Linked DNA regions of Homo sapiens: all the other regions are linked to region 2. Evidence: promoter capture Hi-C in 16 types of primary human blood cells and fetal thymus (Javierre and others, 2016). All regions are on one chromosome and are shown on one strand. Each heading gives the region's core, a stretch centred on a gene start or on the middle of the fragment in contact. The rest is flanking DNA. Distances are from core to core; before and after follow the strand shown. Region 1 overlaps KCNJ8-AS1 (KCNJ8 antisense RNA 1). Region 2 holds the start of C2CD5 (C2 calcium dependent domain containing 5). Region 3 overlaps KCNJ8-AS1 (KCNJ8 antisense RNA 1).

The links. The method cuts DNA at HindIII sites, captures the fragments that hold promoters and counts their contacts. A CHiCAGO score of 5 or more calls a contact.
Region 1: a fragment that was not itself captured here is called in contact with the fragment with the promoter of C2CD5 in region 2 in 6 of 17 cell types (non-activated CD4 T cells, activated CD4 T cells, total CD4 T cells and 3 more); the score reaches 10.1 in non-activated CD4 T cells.
Region 3: a fragment that was not itself captured here is called in contact with the fragment with the promoter of C2CD5 in region 2 in 1 of 17 cell types (non-activated CD4 T cells); the score reaches 5.4 in non-activated CD4 T cells.

Annotation. Positions count from the first base shown.
Region 1 is chr12:21,696,919-21,701,435 of GRCh38, reverse strand. All of the region lies in intron 1 of KCNJ8-AS1 (KCNJ8 antisense RNA 1), which reads right to left. Among named protein-coding and RNA genes, the nearest start is that of KCNJ8-AS1, 37 kb to the right of the region's middle. The HindIII fragment of the contact is 529 bases long and covers 1,448-1,976 here.
Region 2 is chr12:22,541,537-22,545,846 of GRCh38, reverse strand. It overlaps C2CD5 (C2 calcium dependent domain containing 5), which reads left to right and starts at 1,305. Exons shown (of 27, transcript NM_001286176.2): 1 at 1,305-1,527; 2 at 1,668-1,786. The coding sequence starts at 1,697. RefSeq lists enhancers at 1,175-1,404, 2,545-3,064 and a silencer at 1,545-1,664. The HindIII fragment of the contact is 7,848 bases long and covers 1-4,310 here.
Region 3 is chr12:21,680,789-21,684,913 of GRCh38, reverse strand. All of the region lies in intron 1 of KCNJ8-AS1 (KCNJ8 antisense RNA 1), which reads right to left. Among named protein-coding and RNA genes, the nearest start is that of KCNJ8-AS1, 21 kb to the right of the region's middle. The HindIII fragment of the contact is 4,552 bases long and covers 1-4,125 here.

The DNA.
Region 1 (4,517 bases), core at 463-2,962, 840 kb after region 2:
ATAGAAAATTATCGGTATGAGGACTGAAGAGGAGTATTAAACATATAGTTACTTGTAGAGCCAGATGAAGTGAAGATTAAAGGAAGAGAGTATAATATATAATGGTTTTATATTTAAGCAAAGTAGTGAAGTTATAAAAAATTGACATAATGTGTAGAATATGCAAAATATATTTGAACAATTCTCAGTAATTTTTCATGGTGGAGATTTTGGTATGGTTATTTTAAGACTATTCTGTTTATAACATGGGATAAAGTAATAATTACGGGAAATTCTAATTTTATTATCTCCTGCATTCATGGGAACCAAGATTCTTGATACAGAAGAAAGTAGTTGTAGTTAAAGTAAAAACAATCCCTGACACACACATCTCTTTCCCTAATTTTAATTGGAAATATATCAGTAAGATCTGATAAACTATTTTGTATGTACATACAGATATGCCTATGGTATATGTATATGTGTGTCTACATTCATATCTATCAATATTTTCTCTCTTGCGCATCTCTTCCCACAGGAGTCTCTGGCTACATGCTCCCGACAAGACAATCACAAATGTCAATTGCACGTAACTCCTTGCGAAGGACAAATGTTAAGGTTCTTTTCCACTAAGCCCAGTCCATCTCATTTCTCTGGCTTCCCTCATAAAATGATGAACAGTCTTTGCATCCGTCAGTGATAACAGAGTCTCAGCTTCCCATCTCCTGTGAATAAATTCTTGGGGGAGGGAAGCATCTACACACCTATCTAAAACAAAGAGGCCTTAGGCTACATAAATCAAAATATGGGGTAGGGAGGATTTCTAACTTTGCAGAAACAAAGTTCAGCCAATAGATACAATTACTATTACTAAATAGTACACTTAATGCTTCAGTCTGAAGGTACAGTCAATCCTCCATAGCCATGGGTTCCAATGTCTCAGATTCAACCAACCTCAGATTGAAAATATTGTGGACAAAAATATAAAAAATAACAATACAATAATAAAATAATACAAATTTTTAAAACAACATAGTATAACAACTATGTATACATCATTTACATGATATTAAGTATTATAAGTAATCTAGAGATGATTTAAAATATACAAGAGGATGTGCACAGTTGTATGCAAATACTATGCCATTTTGTATAAGGGACTTGAGCATCCACAGATTTTGTTATCCACAAGGGGTGGAGGGTACTGGAACCAACCCCCTTTAGCTACTAGGGAAGAACTGTACTGCATTTTGGTTCCTTCACTGGATTTCAGAGCTTCTCATCCAACATTAGCATTGGGAAACTCCTGGATGAAAGGGAACATCTCCCATAAAAACAAATTCCTGTACCACCATTGCAAGATAGAAAGTGATTACTACTCCCCACATGAAAAATTCTCCAACTTCACCACATCAAAGTCAGGAAGCTATTGAGCATTCAACATTCTAGAATAAGGCAACCCAAAGCTTTCATTGAACAAATATGGTTTGATTGCACAGGTTTGTCAAAGTGCCATGTGGTTTTTGAGTTCCTAAACACCACAATGTCCCCAAGCAAATTTTTAAAACACAAGTTATTCCTTCAGGATGCCAAGATTCCATAGGAACATTATCCTCTATTTCAAAAATAAAGTATAAAGCTATTTGAAAATAAAATATCAATCAGTCAATGCCGAAACTGTAGGAAAGACTGAATGTTGCCTGCCTTTGGAAATCTGTGTCATTCCAGAACATAAAGGCCAATTACCATATCTGCTCAGAAATATATATCAGAAATATATATCAGAGTTGGAAGCTCTTTAGTGGAGATGGATCTTAGAGGCCCCTTTAAGACATAGGCTTTTAGAAACCTTCTATATTAAAGCATGCTCTTACATCCTTCCAATCCTATAACAGAATAAACGTTTCAAAGCACCGACCTGTTAATTACCTTATTTAATCTTCACTATGTTGCATTCATTTGTAATGTTGTTTCTTATTCAATTAAGTAAAGAAGCTTAACTTCTAGATGCATATTATGTGTTTTAAAAGGCTGCAAAAAGCATAAGAATAAAAAATTATTTTCCCCATTAGCTTATCATCAGGAAAATTCCAGACCAAAGAAAGGCATGGAAGTGGATGGTTATGGAGTAAACTTCTGGAAGAAACAAATGTGGAAGACACAGCTTTTCCTCTTTGTAACTTAAGCCAGAATCAACCTACTTTTATCCAGGGGGTAAACTGAGAGAGAAAGAAAACTCTCTATTGACTATTGCGTGCATGCCAAAAGATCATAGACTTTATCTCAATGAACCCCATATAGGCGTTATTATCCCCATTTTATAGATCATGATAAAAACATGCCCACAGCCATATGTGTGGTCTTTGAAAGTACACCATCAAACCCAGACCTATTGATTATAATTATAAGGCCTCTTTTCCTTTCCATGGTATCTCACTGACAAAACCTGTGTTGCCTGGTCTGTGACCACGTCTTGGTTAACTGAAGGAGAACAGAAAATTGTCCTTTTCAGCTGAAACTAAAACCAGATCAACTGACGACTCCAAGATGTTAAAAAATGGTCCAGATAATCCTGACTAAAAATACAATGGACAAACAACTTTATCAATTTCAGACTATTTTTCCCGGTCTCTTGAATTTTGCATGTGAATGTTTCATTTAAAAACAGCCTCATCAAGCAAAGTTTAAAGAAGTGTGTCCAAAAAAATTATAGGTTTTTCCCCCAATCTTTAGAAGATTTTCATTGCTATTGCTACGAAATACAAAAAGTTAAACAAAAAATTTTGTTTTCCAAGCTGAAACATGTATTTGTAAATCCAGGATAGTTAAACAAGAAAACTATTCTTGCAGAAAATATCTGAAAAATGAAATAAGCAATATTAAGACAAACTGAGTAAGGAAGTGGTGATTAAGTGGAGTAAAGACCGAGGTCATGTACATCTGTGCTGTGTAAGGGCCCACTTCATTTTTTGATAACTTCACTTTTTCACCCTTAACAGGGTTAACCCTAGAATGTGACAAGGGTAGCCTATGACAGGCGACATTTTGAAGTCACATTTATACAACCTCTACCCCAAACCCAAAGACCTCTCTCTCTCTGACACAAACACACACGGAAATTTATATACTTTTAATATACACAACCCAAGGTAGTCTTTTACAATTTACCAGAGTCATTTATTACTTAGTGGCATTCCAGCTCTCACACAAAATCACGATATTTCCTGTGCTTCCCTCCATGCACGTTTTGTTCACTTCTTTGCACAAGGGAACTGTGACTCTAGCATGCTGACTTGTCGTAGAAAATAAAGTGGGAATTTTTGGCCATCACTTTTAATTTAGAGCTACTGGTTCATTTCTAGAATAACATTAAACAAGAGAACGATTAAAAAAAAAAAAAAAAGAGAAAGAAATGAATGAATAGGTTATCACTGCCATCTGGTGGTGAAAATGCAAGAAAACAGGATATACATTCTGATAGCTCAAAATAGAATTAGTTTGGGAAAAGCATTGTTTTATAAAATGTCAAAAAATGTTCAGAAGTTTAATTAAGAAATGATTATCAAATGTTTGTGTTACTGATATGACTCAGAGTAGTCGCAATACGGAATATATGATCTCTTCTGATTCACATTTTTTTTTTCTCAATTTCCAGGAACATAGAGGTGTTCCTACTTTTCAGGCCCAAGAACCATAGAAAAAGTTAAATGATCATTGCATCCGTTTCACCTCCCCATGGCACTCCTCCTTCACAGTTGTTATTTCAAGAGAACTAAGTATTTACAATCATGCTATGTGGTGGGCACAGCATACAAAACGGACATCTCATCACCTGCTTGCCTCTATCAGGCTCTGAAGGTGTCTTTCCTAGGAAGTTGTCAACATAATTAAATCAGACAAACTTCAAGATACCATTGCTTTTGACAGTGTGGAGTTTCAACATGACAGACTTTGACTCTGCAGGGGGATTCCACAGCAGCTCCCATCATATCTAAGCTTCTATTACACCCAAGCTTCTATCACACACTAAGCAATGTGATCTCACATTACACAGCATACTAAACTCTCTATATAGGAAATCAAACTTTCTTACGTTGCACACACACACACACCATTTGTTTGTTTCTGCTTTCAAGTCTTTATGCTTTCTTTTATTTTCACTTGTATTGCCTATCATATTATCCTCTTCAACTACCCAGGTCCTTGCCAAACGTAAAAATTCACTGACTTGAAAATGCCTCAAAGGTTATCTATATATTACTTTTTAGGGTTTGCTTTCTATATGTCAGACACTGTTTCAATCATTTTATGCACATATTAGTATTTCCAAATTCTCAAAAAAACTTTGGAGAATTATTATTCCTATTTAAGCGTGGAGAAAACTTGGCTCAGAGCAATGAATAACTCATCTAAGTCTGCACTGGGAGTGAGTGGAGAAACCAAGTTTTGAAGCAAGGTCAGTCTAATTTAAAGGTTAAACTCATTCCTTCCTTGCTCATCATTCTAACAGGGCTTTAGTACACACACATATATGATGT
Region 2 (4,310 bases), core at 56-2,555:
ATGTTTATTTCTTGTGGTTGACTATACTTTCCATGGTAGGAAGTCCTGAACTTCTGCTACTACTGTAGGTCTTATCTTTAGGCTTGTGGATGCTTAATAAGAACACTGAGATGATCTAAGAGTGCAGGACATTTAATTAAAAAAAAATTTTTTTTAAGAGACAGAGTTTTGCTCTGTTGCCCAGGTTGGGGTGCAGTGGTGAGATGGCAGCTCACTGCAGCCTCAAACTCCTGGGCTCAAGCAATTCTCCCAGATTCTCCCACCTCAGCTTCCTAGGTAGCTGAGACCACAGACGAGCCACCGGCCCAGCTAATTTTTGCATTTCTTGTAAAGAAGGGGTCTTACTGTGTTGCCTCGTCTCCATGAGGCTGGTCTCGAACTCCTGGACTCAATCGATCCTCCCACCTCAGCCTCCCACAGTGCTGGGATTACAAATCTGAGCCACCACACCTACCAGCAGAAACTTTTTTTCAAGAGGAGACTTTGGATTTCAAGGTGACCTCCCCCACCCCGCCCACAGTAATATCTGTGACCCAGTGCACAACACAAGTGCCTATGACTGAATAAAATATTTCACTAAATATTTATTTCACTATTCGAGATGTGCCTGGTATCTCTATTTCTTTCTTTCTTTTTTTTCTTTTTTTGGAGACAGAGGAGTGATCTCGGCTCACTGCAACCTCCGCCTCGCAGGTTCAAGCGATTTTCCTGCCTCAGCCTCCTGAGTAGCTGGAATTAGAGGCGCTCGCCACGACGCCCAGCTAATTTTTGTATTTTTAGTAGAGACGGGGTTTCGCCATGTTGTCCAGGCTGGTCTTGAACTCCTGACCTCAGGTGATCCGCCCGCCTCGGCCACCCAAAGTGCTGGGATTACAGACGTGAGCCACTGTGCCTGGCCATCTAACTCTATTTCACAGAAAACTGGAACCACCACACGCACCTGTACCCCTTCCAAGTAGAAACCAGCTAATTTGGTTTTACGAATCACTAAAGGCCGACTGAAAACGCTCTTCTAGCAGTCTTCGCTGCTACTCCATCTATCACAGCCCATCCGAAAAGCGGCGGTAGCAGCTGGGAAGGCCGCGGCCGGAGGCTGTCACAGAGCAGCACTCGCGCTTCGGCCCGCAAGATGGAGCGTTTCCCTCCAGGGAAGCAGCGCCGCACCTATCCACAGCCCCCACTCGGTGGATGATGCAGGACTCGGCCCATTTCCCTGCCCTCCAGCTTTCTCAACGTCAGCCCCGCCCCCTTATCTTTCCTCGGCGAGTTTAGTTTCGCCCCGCCAAGTGGGCAGAGCGCCGAACGATCGATGCTTTCTTCCGCGCCCCGAGAGCCGCCATTTTTGAGAGCGGGGGAGGAGAGACAAGCAGGGGCGGCAGAGGCTCAACGGGATGCTGACTGGGTTTTGCTTTTCGTCCCAGCCTTGTGGGGCCGGGACGGAAGAACCCATCAAAGCCCTTCCTCCCGCCGCCTCTCCGGAATGAGGTCTCAGCACCCGCGCGGGACAGCACCCTTCCTCCTGCGACAGTGAGTGGCGACCCGTGGCGCGACTGCCGGGCGCCCGCGCGCGCCCCCGCGCGCTCCTTCGCTGTCAGTTACCCCGCGCGCCTCCGCCCCTCTCCCGCCGGCCCCGCGCTCGGCGCAGACTCGTTTGTTTGTTTCTGCAGGAGCCCAAGAAGAGGCCGAAACCGAGACCATGCCAGGGAAGCTGAAGGTGAAAATCGTGGCCGGGCGCCATTTGCCAGTGATGGACCGTGCTAGTGACCTGACTGATGCCTTCGTGGAGGTTGGTGCAGGGTCCTGCCCCTCAAAACACAGGGAGCGCCAAGCCCTGTGAAGGATCTACCCACCTCGCCCCCAGCCCCTCAGCCTATTCCCCCCTCGACTGCCCTCCCTTCGGCCGTGGTTGTCCAGCTCTCCCACGAGGGATGACCGCCGAGACCTCAGTGTGTGCGATGGGTGCACGGCTTGCAGGCGTCCGCGGCACAGTCCGCTGCGCGGGGAGGCTTGTACTGTTGTGCATGCGGGGGTGACCCTGATGTCAGGACTCATTAACAGGCCACCTGCCACTCAGGAGATCCCAAGGCGTGGCCGCGCAGCCACCGACACACTCACACACATACACACACACACACACAAATGCCGGAATGACTCTGATGTCAGGACTCATTAACAGGCCACCTGCCACTCAGGAGATCCCAAGGTGTGGCCCCGCAGCCACTGAAACACACACACACACAGGCACACACACACCCTTGGAAGGGGTGGCCAGAGTGCTGGACATCATGTTTAAGAAGGTGCATGAAGCCCTTTATGGGCACTTGGAGTCCCACAGTGCGAGGAAATCCACTCTCATGCCTAACATTTTGTGAATCTGCCATGCACGTTCTAAAACACAACTGCAACACTTCCTGCTCTTGTATAGGCTGGTAGGTCTGATGAGGTGTTTCAGGGTAATTTAGCGCCTTGAGGTAGGAAGTCATTTAATTGCCATGGACTTAAATTGCAAAATTGCTTTTTAAGTCTAATGATTAGTTTAAAAGTCATGCAAATTAGTAAAGGCCTACGGCCGGAAGGTAATAACCCAGAGTCTGAAAGAAGCCAAGTAAAGATTGTAATAAAAATTGGCGTGATGAGCCAGAGCATTAGAGCAGCAATCATTTGGGCTATTAGTGCTTAGAATTGATGGATAGATATATCATAATATATAGCTCGATTTCATCTCAATATTCCTGATGTTTCCTAAATGTTCTCTAACCGAATAATTACAGTTCACTGCCTCCCCTGCCCATTGTCATGGTGATTCTTAATCACTTCATTTGAGAAAGTTCTTGAGTGCTCTTGTGCCAGATGTTAGGTGATAGGAATCCACAAATAACTAAAACATAGTGTTTGCTTTCCGGTAGTTCAGACATTGACCCACACAGCCTATTTAATAACTAATAGGTAACGTGTTGAATTTAATAATTGCCAGATCTGTACTAAGTACTTTTAAATTCTTAGTTTTCACAACAGTCCTGCTATAGGAGTATTGTTATTGTCCCATGTTACAGTGGATGTAACTGAGGCCCAGGAAGGGTAAATAATTTGCTTAAGGTTACATAGCTTGCAAACCTCCACAGCCTGACAGTTTGTTCTCTTAACCACTCTGCTAATACGGCCTCACCAAAGTGATGAGTATTGTATTAGAATATGGAAAGAATTCTGTCTCTGAAGGTTGAGAAAGGCTTCTTGTGAAAGTGACATTTGAAGTGGGCCTTGAAGGACACCCAGGATTTTACCAGGCAAAGGGAACATCAAAGGCAAAGGCATAGACTGGGATATATAGTATGTTCAGGAAACTGCCTTAGTTTAGTACGTGTCTGGAGGAAAGGGTATGAGATATGTGGGTAGTGGAGCTTGTTAGGGATGAGGCTGGAAAGCCCCATTTTCTATAAAACCTCATTTTCTGTAATATTTATAAGGAGCGACAAGGAAGCTGAATGCAGGTCACTGCAGCCTCCAACTCCTGGCCTCAAGCCATCCTCCTGCCTCTCCCGCTTCGGCCTCCCAAAGTGCTGGGATTATGGGCCTGAGCCACCACGCCTGGCCAGGGGAGTTTTTTAAGCAGAAATAAAATAAGATCATGTTTGTATTAGTTTGTTTCTTTATAGGATGGCCTGAATGGGGATGCTATTGATGGACTAGACAGATGGGAAGTGTGGCAGGGAGATCAGTTAAGAAGGTGGTAAAATTATCCAGGTAATATGTGGGAATGGGAATAGGAATGGATTTGAACAGAAAGATTTGTGGGACATTTCTTAGGTTAAAATAGTCAGGCCTTGATAACTAGGTGGATTTTGCTGGTGAGGAAGGGGGCTGATTCAGGGGTTACTTATTACTTCCTTCTTTGAACAAATTGAGTGTCTGCCGTTTGCCAGGCTCTGGGCTAGTTACTGGTCTAGCCGATGTATATACATGGTGAATAAGACAGACTTGGTTCCTTCTCTTAATTCAGCTTATATTTTAGTGGGAGAGACAGATGTTTAAAAGGTAAATAAATTATTAAATATATAGTTACAAGTTGGGATGGGTGCCATGAAAGGGAACAATAGAAAGAGAACAACAGGGAACACCTACTTTAGGTTGAGTAATCAGGGGAGGCCCCTGAGAAAAGTGTTTGTCAAAACCAAGATCTGCTGGATGAGAAGGAGCCTGCTGCTGAGGGAGCATATTTGTGTGTGTAGGGGAGTGGGTGGACAGAAGGTAACCCGGAGATCTCATGTAGAGATTTGGTGTGTTTTAAGAAGTGAAGGAAAATGCGTGTGGCT
Region 3 (4,125 bases), core at 636-3,135, 860 kb after region 2:
TGAGCCGCAAGATGGTTCCACTGCACTCCAGCCTGGGCACTGGGAAACAGAGTGAGACTCCGTCAAAAAAAAAAGAATTCCTATCTTTCAATGATACTAACATATTTACAAATAAAACTATGTCTTTATTTTGCTATTAAATGACCTAGTATGTTGGAGGAAAGTAAATAAAGGCAGAAAGGAAAAAGGTAACTGGAACTGGTGATGTATATATTGGAAGTAGTTACATAACTCTATTTTGGTGTACATTTGAAAATTTCCATAATAAAAAGGACAAATAACATTGAAATCTTTACTATTAGCCTACAAGGACCTGTATAACCTGGTCCATGCCCACCCTCCTCATCTCATCACTCTTCCCTTGCTCATTCTGTACCAGTGACTTTGACAGCCTTTCTGTTCTATGAATATGCCAAGCTCTTTGTCTAGAGAAATATGTAAAGAAATAATAACAGAATTTTCCAAAAATTTTGAAAGACATCAAACAAAGATACAAGAAGTGAAAGGAGGCAGTAATTATTTGCCACTTTTCAATTAATTCTAATATCCTTAGCTTGTTAAGGCACTCCATTCTGTGAAGACCTTCCACTCCAAACCCAACCTAAATCTGCAGTTGACCACCTGGGTGGACTTCAATGGAGAATAATCTCCTCAATCCCATCCTGACTGACTGGGTTTTGCATCATCTGTGTGACCCCAGAGACCAGCATTAGCAAGCCTCAAGTTAGAAGTTTTTAGCAAATGTAGGTTCTGTGATGCCTTTGAGCTAAGGTGCACTAGATGATAGGGGAGTAATAGTTGTTTCTTATTTAATTTGATGTGGAAATAAGAATGGAATGAAATGGCTATCAATACAATTTCAGAAGTCTTCTAAAGGCACTGTCTTCCTTGATGGTTCTTATTGCAAGGCAACTGATCTGAAGTAGACTGAAGAGGGAGGCTGGCTTTAGAAACAGAGACTAAAAAGTGGGGACACTGGGCCAGGTGCAGTGGCTTATGCCTGTAATCCCAGCACTTTGGGAGGCCAAGGCAGGCTGATCATGAAGTCAGGAGTTCAAAACCAGCCTGGCCAGCATGGTGAAACCCCATCTCTACTAAAAATACAAAAAATTAGGCTGGCATTGTGGTACACGCCTGTAGTCCCAGCTAGTTGGGAGGCTAAGGCAGGAGAATTGCTTGAACCCAGCAGGCAGTGGTTGCAGTGAGCCAAGATTGTGCCACTGCACTCCAGCCTGGGTGACAGAGCATCTCAAAAAAAAAAAAAAAAAAAAAAAAAAAAGTGGGGACATCTGAGTTACTTAAGAGTGAAGAATCAAGAGAACTTAAGTGAAGTACAAAAGAACAACAAAACAAAACAAAAATAAGAATAGGAAACAGAGAAGAAAATGACTGCAAACTAGATTCTTTAATCCCCAAAGATTCATTTATAGGAACACAAAACAAATTTTACTTTTGTGTTCAGGGCCAGCCATAAAGATCCGTCCTTAAAGAGAGTGAGACGAAGGGCACATTGCAACAGAAAGGTGGATGCATACAGAGTTATATAATTTTGCAGCCATTCCACACACCTTGGCAAGGGCCGATGGTTTCAAAATCCAAGAATAGCTCCACATGTGATCTCTGACTGATTGGGAAGAGGAATATGCCTGGCATGGCAAGAGAAGAGCACTCCCAAAAATGATGAGCAAGAAAATCATTTTCTCTGCTAGAAATAGGTCAGAGAACTTTCCAGTGATGAGATCTGGAGATTCAGAAATCAATGGTGGTCACTATTTTGCTGCTTTTTAAAAGGCAGAGGGCTGTTAATACCATTCATCTCATTTATTCAAACAAACACATTATTTGAAAATACATTGTTTTCCAAGCCCTGTACTAGACACAGAGAATACACTACTGGGCAAAAGAGGAATGGATTCTGAGGACAGGTAGAGTATCCCTTCTTTCTCTATCAGTAAGTCAGTTCTCCAGACCTATTTACTGAGAGGCCAGACAAAGGATTTTTCTAGGCTCACCTTTCTTAGCTGCCTCTTCTAACAATCCCTGTGAAGTAGAGTTTAAAGTTGACTGAGTCCATAAGAGATTAATGTACAGTAATTAAGGATGTAAAACAATGTTCTCCAATGGCCAGAATTCTTTACTCTGCAGAATTTATGATATATGGCAATGAAAATAACTAAAACCTTCAAAAATTTAGTACTCAAAACAGGACAAAAGAGCTAGATGAAACTTGTCTGCTTTACCACCACTACTATAGTCACTTTAATCCCAAGATAGGTAACTCAAGATTGGCTTCAGCTGTTTTGTCTAGGCTGAAGGGCAATTTATATTATGAAAAAAAAATGACAGTATCAAAGAATAAGTTCAGTTGTCTGCTTTATTCCATAAATATAAATTAAGCCATTAAAAGTAAGTTAGCTCCTAGAAAATGAGCAGCTTTTTGTCTGTGAAAACTGGTATCAAAATTAAAGAAACAGGAAAAAACAGCCCCACTTAACAAAAAAAGATACAATATCCAAGAACCATTAAATGCTCAGATTATGAGTAGATACTTTTCATCCAGAATTGATGACCAAGCATGGGTCAGGCTAGTCAAATACTCCTGAGGTTCCCAGAACATATCTGGGAGCAGAATATCCCAGGTAAGTGTGAAAGCAATGTGCCAACAAAGACTTTCGTTCCTCAAATGCCCCAGCACTTTAATGTTGAATTGTGATTTTTTTCTACTCTCAGCTTTGGCCTTGTTTTTGTGCCTGTACCTGCTTCAGACAGATCTTCACAAATAGTGCCTTTGGTCAGTTAACCATAGGTGGTATGAGGTCTAGATTGCGCAAAACTAACAAGAACTTGAAGACAACTATCTTATAAAACTGAAATCAAAGGGCTTAAAGGACATTCAGTTTGTTGATAAAGTAGATATCACCTTGTAGAAACTCAAAAGGCCATATATAAGGAACATGAATAAACATTTTTATTTATTTATTATTTTTGTTTTTTGAGATAAAGTCTCACTTACTCTGTCACCCAGGCTGGAGTACAGTGGCTCAACTCACTACAACCTCCGCCTCCCCAATTCAAGCGATTCTCCTGTCTCAGCCTCCCAGGTAGCTGGGATTACAGGCACCCGCCACCACACCTGGCTAATTTTTTTTTTTTTTTTTTGAGACGGGGTTTCACTCTGTCGTCCGGACTGGAGTGCAGTGGTATGATCTCGGCTCACTGAAACCTCTGCCTCCCAGGTTCAAGCAATTCTCCTGCCTCAGGCCTCCCAAGTAGCAGGGACTAAAGACGTATGCCACTATGCCCAGCTAATTTTTGTATTTTTAGTAGAGAAGGGGTTTCACCATGGTGGCCAGGTTGATCTTAAACCCCTGACTTCAAGTGATTTGCCCACCTTGGCCTCCCAAAGTGCTGGGATTTAGGTGTGAACCACCGACCATGCCTGGCCTGATTTGTTTGTTTTTTGTCATTGAGATTGGGAGGAGGGATAGGAGTTGGTGTTTAAAGATATCACCTAATCATTTCCTTGCATACACAGGAAACATAAAACACAATTTTCCCTCATGTTGGAAGTTGAGTGCTCTCAGGGCATAGAGTGAAGGAAAGTCCTCATTTTGCCCTAAGCAAATGTTTCCTGGGTATGTGGCTCCAAGGGAAGATGCCAATGCTAAGTTCTCTAAGAGTACTAGCAAAATGCTTCTTGCACATCATAACTGCTTCATAGCTATCTCTTCAGTACTTTTTCCCTGGTGATCCCTAACCAAGGCTCCCACAATGGGAGCATCAGAGCTTGCACATTGGCCTTGCAGAAGCTATACCACCACCACCACCACACAAAAGACTTGGATTAAGATCCCAAATGCCTCCCCCAATAAGAGCCGTTTCAAATCTCCAAACTATTGTCTTTATTATCATAGTTTCCATAAACAACCGTAATTAAATGCATACTAGGTACTAGTGTTTTACATTTAGTAACGCTAATCTTCAGAATTTTCCAGTTTATAAAAGAGTTAACTGAGGCTTAGAAGGTTTAAGCAATTTACCTAAAACTACAAAGTTAGCAAGTAGTGGAGTCTTGGTTGAACTATATGTCTCAGTCTTAAACTTATCTTCTTAGTAACTCGACGT